Linked DNA regions of Homo sapiens: region 2 is linked to region 1. Evidence: promoter capture Hi-C in 16 types of primary human blood cells and fetal thymus (Javierre and others, 2016). All regions are on one chromosome and are shown on one strand. Each heading gives the region's core, a stretch centred on a gene start or on the middle of the fragment in contact. The rest is flanking DNA. Distances are from core to core; before and after follow the strand shown.

Region 1 (3,520 bases), core at 537-3,036:
ATACTTCAGTGAAATTTTACAAATGTATTCACCCACACAGGCACTACCTTAATCGAAAACAGAATATTTACATCACTTCAAATCAAGCTCTATCCAACTTAGTCTCTTCTTGAGCCCTGAGCAGCCACTAATCTGTCTTCTGTCACTATAGATGTCTTTTAAGAGCCTGGGGTCTCACTTGGGGAATCATACTCTTGCATTTGATTTCTTACTCTGTCGCCCAGGTTGGAGTGCAATGGCACCATCTCGGGTCACAGCAACCTCTGCCTCCTGAGTTCAAGGGATTCCCCTGTCTCAGCCTCCCAAGTGGCTGGGATTACAGGCGCACGCCACCATGCCTGGCTAATTTTTTTGTATTTTTAGTAGAGACAGGATTTCACCATATTGGTCAGGCTAGTCTCCAACCCGACCTCTCCACTGCCAGCCTCCCAAAGTGTTGGGATTACACGCATGAGCTACCAGCTACCAAGCTCAGCCTGATTTCTTTTACTCAATATATTTTTGAAATTCATTCATGTTGTATGTCAAGTAGTTTATCCCTGTTTATTGATAATTACATTCATTACATTGTATGGATATGCCACAAATTGTTTTTATTCAACAGTTGATGGACATTTGGGTTGTCTGTAGTTTTTGATGATTAAAAACAAAGCTGGGCCAGGCACGGTGGCTCATACCTGTAATCCCAGCACTCTGGGAGGCTGAGGTGGGCAGATCACGAGGTCAGGAGTTTGAGATCAGCCTGACCAACATGGTGAAACCCCATCTCTACTAAAAATACAAAAAACAGCCTGGTGTGGGGGCAGGCGCCTGTAATCCCAGCTACTCGGGAGACTGAGGCACGAGAATTGCTTGAACCTGAAAGGCAGAGGTTGCAATGAGCCGAGATCAGGTCACTGCACTCTAGCAGGGGCGACAAGAGTGACACTCTGTCTCAAACAAAAACAAAAACAAAGCAAAACAAAGCTGGTATGAACATTAACGTACAAGCCTTTGTATGAATATGTTTTTGTTCCTAAGTAAATTCGTAGATTACTGGATCGAATGATAAGTATATGATTATAAGGAGAGATTGTTAAGTTTTCCAAAGTGGTTGTACCATTTTGCATTACCACCACCAACATAACAGAGGTCCAGTTGCTCTGCATCCTTGCCAACATTTGGTATTATCTTTTCCATCTTTTAATTTTGGGCCATCCTAAAGAACAGGTGGTGATAAAGATGTGCTTCTTACCTGCGCCCGTCTATTTATGTAACCCCATTTAAAAACTGATCATTTTATTAATAAATTAAAAAAATCTAAAACATATAAGAATCTGAAATTAAATGTCTGGCTTGACTTTGCAGATATTTTGAATCTATGTTTCCTCACGAAACTCCCAGGCGCTGTATAGGAAACATAAATCCGTTGTCAGGCAGCAGTAGCACGCTGTTGCTCTCGGAGCTTGGCTGCTCGTTCGTGCTCGCAACCACTAAGGTCTACGCAAACCTCCACGGTTTCCTTCCGCCTTCGCGTCACCTTTCTAAGAAATTCCCAGAGGGCAGCGCAGACGGGGCGGGCTCTGAGACTCCGGGCTCCGCCTCTTTCCGGGAACCGCCCACTACCCAGGACTCCGACAGAGGGTGAAAAAAGATAACTTCCGGTCTCGCGATCGTCTCTAATCTCGCGAGAAGAGAAGGCGGCCGCCATCGGCCGAACGGAGGCGGTGGCGAGGGAGGGGGTGTGGCCGGGGAGCGCGAAGTCCCCGGGAGTAAGGGAGAGGGGGCGGGGTCGCGCGTCCCGGGCATACGCATGCGTGCACGCTGCCGGTCGGGCTGGGCTGAGAGGGGAGGGGGCGGCGGCGGCCGAGGCGGCGTCGTTATTTCCGTGGTCCGGACAGTGCGTGGCGGCGCGGGTGACCACGGGAGAAGTAGGTAGGGACCGCCCCTGCGTAGCCATTGAAACCCTCTCGCTCGTGTGTCCGAGAGCCGCAGCCCCCCGCGCGTGTGGCAGATCCTGGGGACCCCAGGTCACCCTGCGGCCCCGGCCCTCCCGCTGCGCGTCAGGTAGGAGCGGCGGGCTCCCCAGTGCCCGCTGTCGGCCGAGGCCCCACTCTTGCCCGGTGTTGCCGAGGCGACGACCCGGCGCCGGACGTGCCCGCCCTCCCGCGCGGCGACAGCTCTGTCCTTGCTTATGCGCCCAGTGGGACCGGGGCTGGGCTGGGCTGACCCGGGCAGGGCGGAAGGGAAGCGTGTGCCCGCCTCAGGTGTGCCTCGGCCCTAGGCCCGGCCGGCGGGACCCTGCGGTGCCTGCCGGCTCCTCATTGCTCCCGGCGAGGTTCTGCCTGGGTCCGGGCCGGCTCTGGCCCGGGAGAGGTCCCAGCGAGCTCTGGCCAGATGAAGGGCTACCTTGATTGACTTCGGTAGCTGCCGCATGGGGTCCTGGGCTGCGAGAGGGGACCCTGAATAGTGCCTTGGTCTTTTGTGGCTATTATTGAAAGTTGGAAGCTCTGGAGTTGTTCTTTTCGGGCCAGAGGTGAGATGGTTTGTGATTTTTCTTCTTAAACAGTAGGAAGGCAAAATGTTTATGGGCCCTGGTAGGTGGTGGGCTAATAGTAAGCAGCAGGAGTGTTAATTGACGTGCGATTTGATTGCATTAAGGTTATTCTTTGCAGTACTGTCCTTAGACTCAGAAGAGTTCTGCTTTAAAGAGTTTAGTTAAGACTTCATCCTATGCTGAAACAAACACCCATTTCTGCAAATACTCTTGCCCTGAAAGCTACATCCTCTCTCTTACATCAGTATTAATTTTACAGGCATAATGGTTATGAAAGCTTCTGTAGATGATGACGATTCAGGATGGGAGCTCAGTATGCCAGAAAAAATGGAGAAAAGCAATACAAACTGGGTGGACATTACCCAAGATTTTGAAGAAGCTTGTCGAGGTGAGTCTGATTTTTGGATTAGAAGTTCAGCATCTGGAAGGGGTAGAATGACGATTGTGCTTTCTAAACTTACCTCATTAGATGAAATCAACAGGTAAATGTGGTTTGTTGAGTTTGTTAGCCACACTTATTCTGTATCCTCTAATTTTAACTTTAAAGCAAATGTATATTTGATACAGCATTAAATACAGATGTTGAGGCAGTATTTTAAAATTGAATTTTTCTTGCTTTAACAGGTTAGAGAGAGCAGTAATTTCTAACTGTGGAAAACACTTTGTTAATCTAAAAGATAATAGTATTTTTGTATGTTTGAGGTTTCAGTATGATCAGATCACATCATTCCTTGTTTAAGATTGTCCAGTGGCTTCCTGTTGCAGGTAGAATAAAATCCACCCTCCTTCCCTATGGGTCTATAAAATCTGGTCCCTGCCTGCCACTCAGGTTTCATTTATGTGCCACTGTCCCCGCCAGGCTTATTACATTCCAGTCACAGGTCTTTTTTATCTCTTCGTAATACACACCAAGGTGGTTCTCCCAGGTGTTTGCATTTTTTGTTTTCTTTCTTTTAAATTGCTTTGCCCCTCGCTTTCACACAA
Region 2 (3,520 bases), core at 288-2,787, 8.2 Mb after region 1:
AGAACATCAATAAAACAAGCAAGATGGAGCCAGAGAGTGCCAAAATGTTACAGTGTTACAAAAACAGAGTGGTGAAATCTCATTAAAGATGGAGATTTACACTGGGTGGCCAGCAAAGTCCTCCCTAAATAGGGGAGGTTCAAGTGCCATCTGGGTGACAAGGACCAGCCAGACGAAGATGGGACAAGCATGCCAGGTGACCTGAGCAGTGGCAGGAGTGGTGAATGGAGAGGGAGGCCCAGGCTGGACACGGGAGCAAGCTCGGACTTGAACCCAAGGAATACCATGCGCTGCTTTGCTCTGCAAGCAGGTTGTTCTGTTTGACCCCAGACAAACAGCGAAATGCATGCTCTTCCTAACCCTTGCCAAATAATGATCATTAATGACAACCAGGCTGTTTATCACTCAGCAATCCCAAATCACTTTCCTAGGTATGATCTAGCTGAAATACGGAGTCTCTATCCAAAGGAACTCCGTTCCTAGGAAACGGAGTTGCTGGACATTCACTCATGTTTGTTCTGTTCCAAAGGCTGCATGTTCTCTCCACAAAATGCCTACATGCATGTCTACCACATCGGGCCAGCTTCCGGCAGAAGTATACCCAAATTTCAGGGGCTTACATGAGATGGAAGTCATGTCTTTCTCACTTAAAGTCCAAGCTTGTGTAGAGGGTGCCCTGTGATGCTACCAGGGGACTCAGGTTAGCTCTTCACTGCTGCTTGCAACTGGTGGACATAGTGGCTCTCCACCACACCCCAATCACATCCAAGTAGCTAGAAATCAGAAAGCGGGAGACAGAGGGAATCCAGAACCCCCTTCCATCCTGCTCACAGCTCACCAGCCAGAACTTAGTCACACAGGTACAGTCAGGGAGTAATTTAAGTCTACCATCACCAAAAAACTGGGTTTCTGTTTATTATAGAAAAAGGAGACATTGGATATTGGGGAACAACTATCGGTCACTGGCATGGCTTTTATTTTTATATTTTTTCCTAGTTATGAAAGCAATACATACTACCAGGAATCCAGATATATATATAAAGAAAATAAAGGTTAGGAGTAATTCCAGATCTAACTGTTGTTATAAGACAAACAAATTTTTTGTAACCTTACTTCTCACTTAATAGTATATCCTGGCCGGGCACTGTGGCTCATGCCTGTAATCCCAGCACTTTGGGAGGCCGAGGTGGGTGGATCACGAGGTCAGGAATTCAAGACCAGCCTGGCCAAGATGGTGAAACCCTGTCTCTACTAAAAATACAAAAATTAGCTGGGAATGGTGGCAGGAGCCTGTAATCCCAGCTACTCAGGAAGCTGAGGCAGGGTATTGCTTGAACCCGGGAGGCAAACGTTGCAGTGAGCCGAGATCGTGCCACTGCACTCCAGCCTGGACGACAGAGCAAGACTCTGTCTCAAAAAAAAAAAAAAAAAAATAGTATATCCTGATAATCTTCCCGTATCAATAAACATAGATCTACATTACTATGAGAACTTTTTTTTTCCCTTGAGACGGAGTCTCGCTCTGTCGCCCAGGCTGGAGTACACTGGCACAATCTCAGCTCACTGCAAACTCTGCCTCCCGGGTTCAAGTGATTCTCCTGCCTCAGCCTTATTTGTCTGTATCTCTTGGATGCCTGTCAGGTGCTAGGCCCTGTGGTGGTGACTGGGTGCACAAGAGAGAGCAAGACAAAGTTCCAGCTCAATGAATTTTATTTCCCCTGTTGTTTACAAATGCTTTGATTTGACTTGTAGATATTTGTCAACCATTAGTATCTTGGTTCTATTGAAGGAGTAAGAACATTTTAAGCTGAAATTCTTCTTTCTTTTCAATTGAGATGGAGTCTCACTCTGTCACCCAGGCTGGCGTGCCATGGCATGACCTCAGCTCACTGCAGCTTCTGCCTCCTGGGTTCAAGCGATCCTCTCACCTCAGACTCTCGAGTAGCTGGGATTACAGGCGCACGCCACCACGCCCGGCTAATTTTTGTATTTTTAGTAGAGATGGGATTTCACCATGTTGGCCAAGCTGGTCTCAAACTCCTGACCTCAAGTGATCCCCCCGCCTCGTCCTCCCAAAGTGCTGGGATTACAGGCGTGAGCCACTACGCCTGGCCACGATCATACCTTTTCATGGCATGTTTGGACCGTAATTTATGCAGTCACCTATGGTGTACTGGTAGATGGTTGTGATTTGAGGCTACTATAAACAAGATGATGAACAGCCTGTGGAGGATCTTTGTATGTTTGTCCTGTTATTTTCTAGGCATAAATTCCTAGCAGTGGCAAAATGCTGGATTAAGGAACACTTTCAAAGATTCCGATTCTTGCTGCCAAATTGGCCCCTAGACTTGCAGAAATTTATACTAATGCCTCCAATGTTTCCTTCTACAATGCCACTGATCAACTAAGAGATAAGAAAGCTTTCATTGTTTAAAACTTTGTCTTTATTTGATTACTAGTGAGGATGAGCATCTTTTCATATTTATTGGCCATTTTCTTTTGTAAATTGTCAGTTCACATCCTTTTTAAACAGTCCATATTTTAATAGGAGTGTTCACTTTATCCTATTGATTTGAAAAAAAAAATCCACTTTATTAAGGATAACATATTAGCAAATGCTTATGTAGTACTTATGTGTACCAAGCACTGTTCTTAGTTCTTAAGATGTTTATATTAATCTTTTCAACAGCCTGTAAGGTAAGTATTGTTATCCCTATTTTATAGATGAAGAAACTGAGGCACAGAAAAGATATACAATTTGCCCGGTACATAGTTGTACAGCTAGGAAGAGGCAGAACTGGGATTCACACTTAGTAGTCTGGTTCCAGATCCTTGCTTTTAACCACTGGACATTCAAATTAATGTTTTGTCTCTTAGAGATTTTTTTAGACTTTTACAATATTTCCAATTTTTGTCTTTTAACTTCAAAGTTTTTAAAATTCAGTTTTCATTTATATTGTCAAATCCATTAACATTTTCCAAATGGATTCTACTTTAGCGTCATTTAGTTGACCTTCAAGGGTAAAAAATGAAGCACAGATAGGAAGGTAAAGGGTAATGTATGTCATATGCACTTTTGCAAACTCACCAAGAAGTTTCCGATGAACATATGAAGAAAATGTCAGAAGGGCTCATAGTGCTATAAGGCTTCTTATTTCTTCTAAAACACACTGGCCCACCAGCCTCTACTACCAACCTCTAATTGAGGCTCACAGTACCTCTTAACTCTGATATCCAACAATATCCTGGTTTATTTGCTAATGCTTTCTTCCCACCTCAGCCTACTTCATCATTATTAGATATCATTTAATCCTACCCTACTGCTGTGCTAGGTACTTGGCATAGACAGGAACAAAACAGTTTCTGCCCTTGAAGAGTTCCACATCCCCTGCAGCATAACCACACTCTTCCCCTGAACTGTACTCGATCTAGCTCTGGGGCCTGCTCTCTCCTTTCTCAATATATCTTCTAACCTCAAGAAGTCCTCCCCAAATCCTACCCATGGCTTAAGCTCAAGTTT

What was found. The method cuts DNA at HindIII sites, captures the fragments that hold promoters and counts their contacts. A CHiCAGO score of 5 or more calls a contact.
Region 2: a fragment that was not itself captured here is called in contact with the fragment with the promoter of NAA35 in region 1 in 1 of 17 cell types (neutrophils); the score reaches 11.9 in neutrophils.

The regions. Positions count from the first base shown.
Region 1 is chr9:85,939,360-85,942,879 of GRCh38, forward strand. It overlaps NAA35 (N-alpha-acetyltransferase 35, NatC auxiliary subunit), which reads left to right and starts at 1,787. Exons shown (of 23, transcript NM_024635.4): 1 at 1,787-1,914; 2 at 2,796-2,924. The coding sequence starts at 2,801. RefSeq lists a silencer at 1,691-2,370. The HindIII fragment of the contact is 5,629 bases long and covers 1-2,811 here.
Region 2 is chr9:94,161,543-94,165,062 of GRCh38, forward strand. No RefSeq gene overlaps it. Among named protein-coding and RNA genes, the nearest start is that of MIRLET7A1HG, 3.0 kb to the right of the region's middle. The HindIII fragment of the contact is 1,761 bases long and covers 658-2,418 here.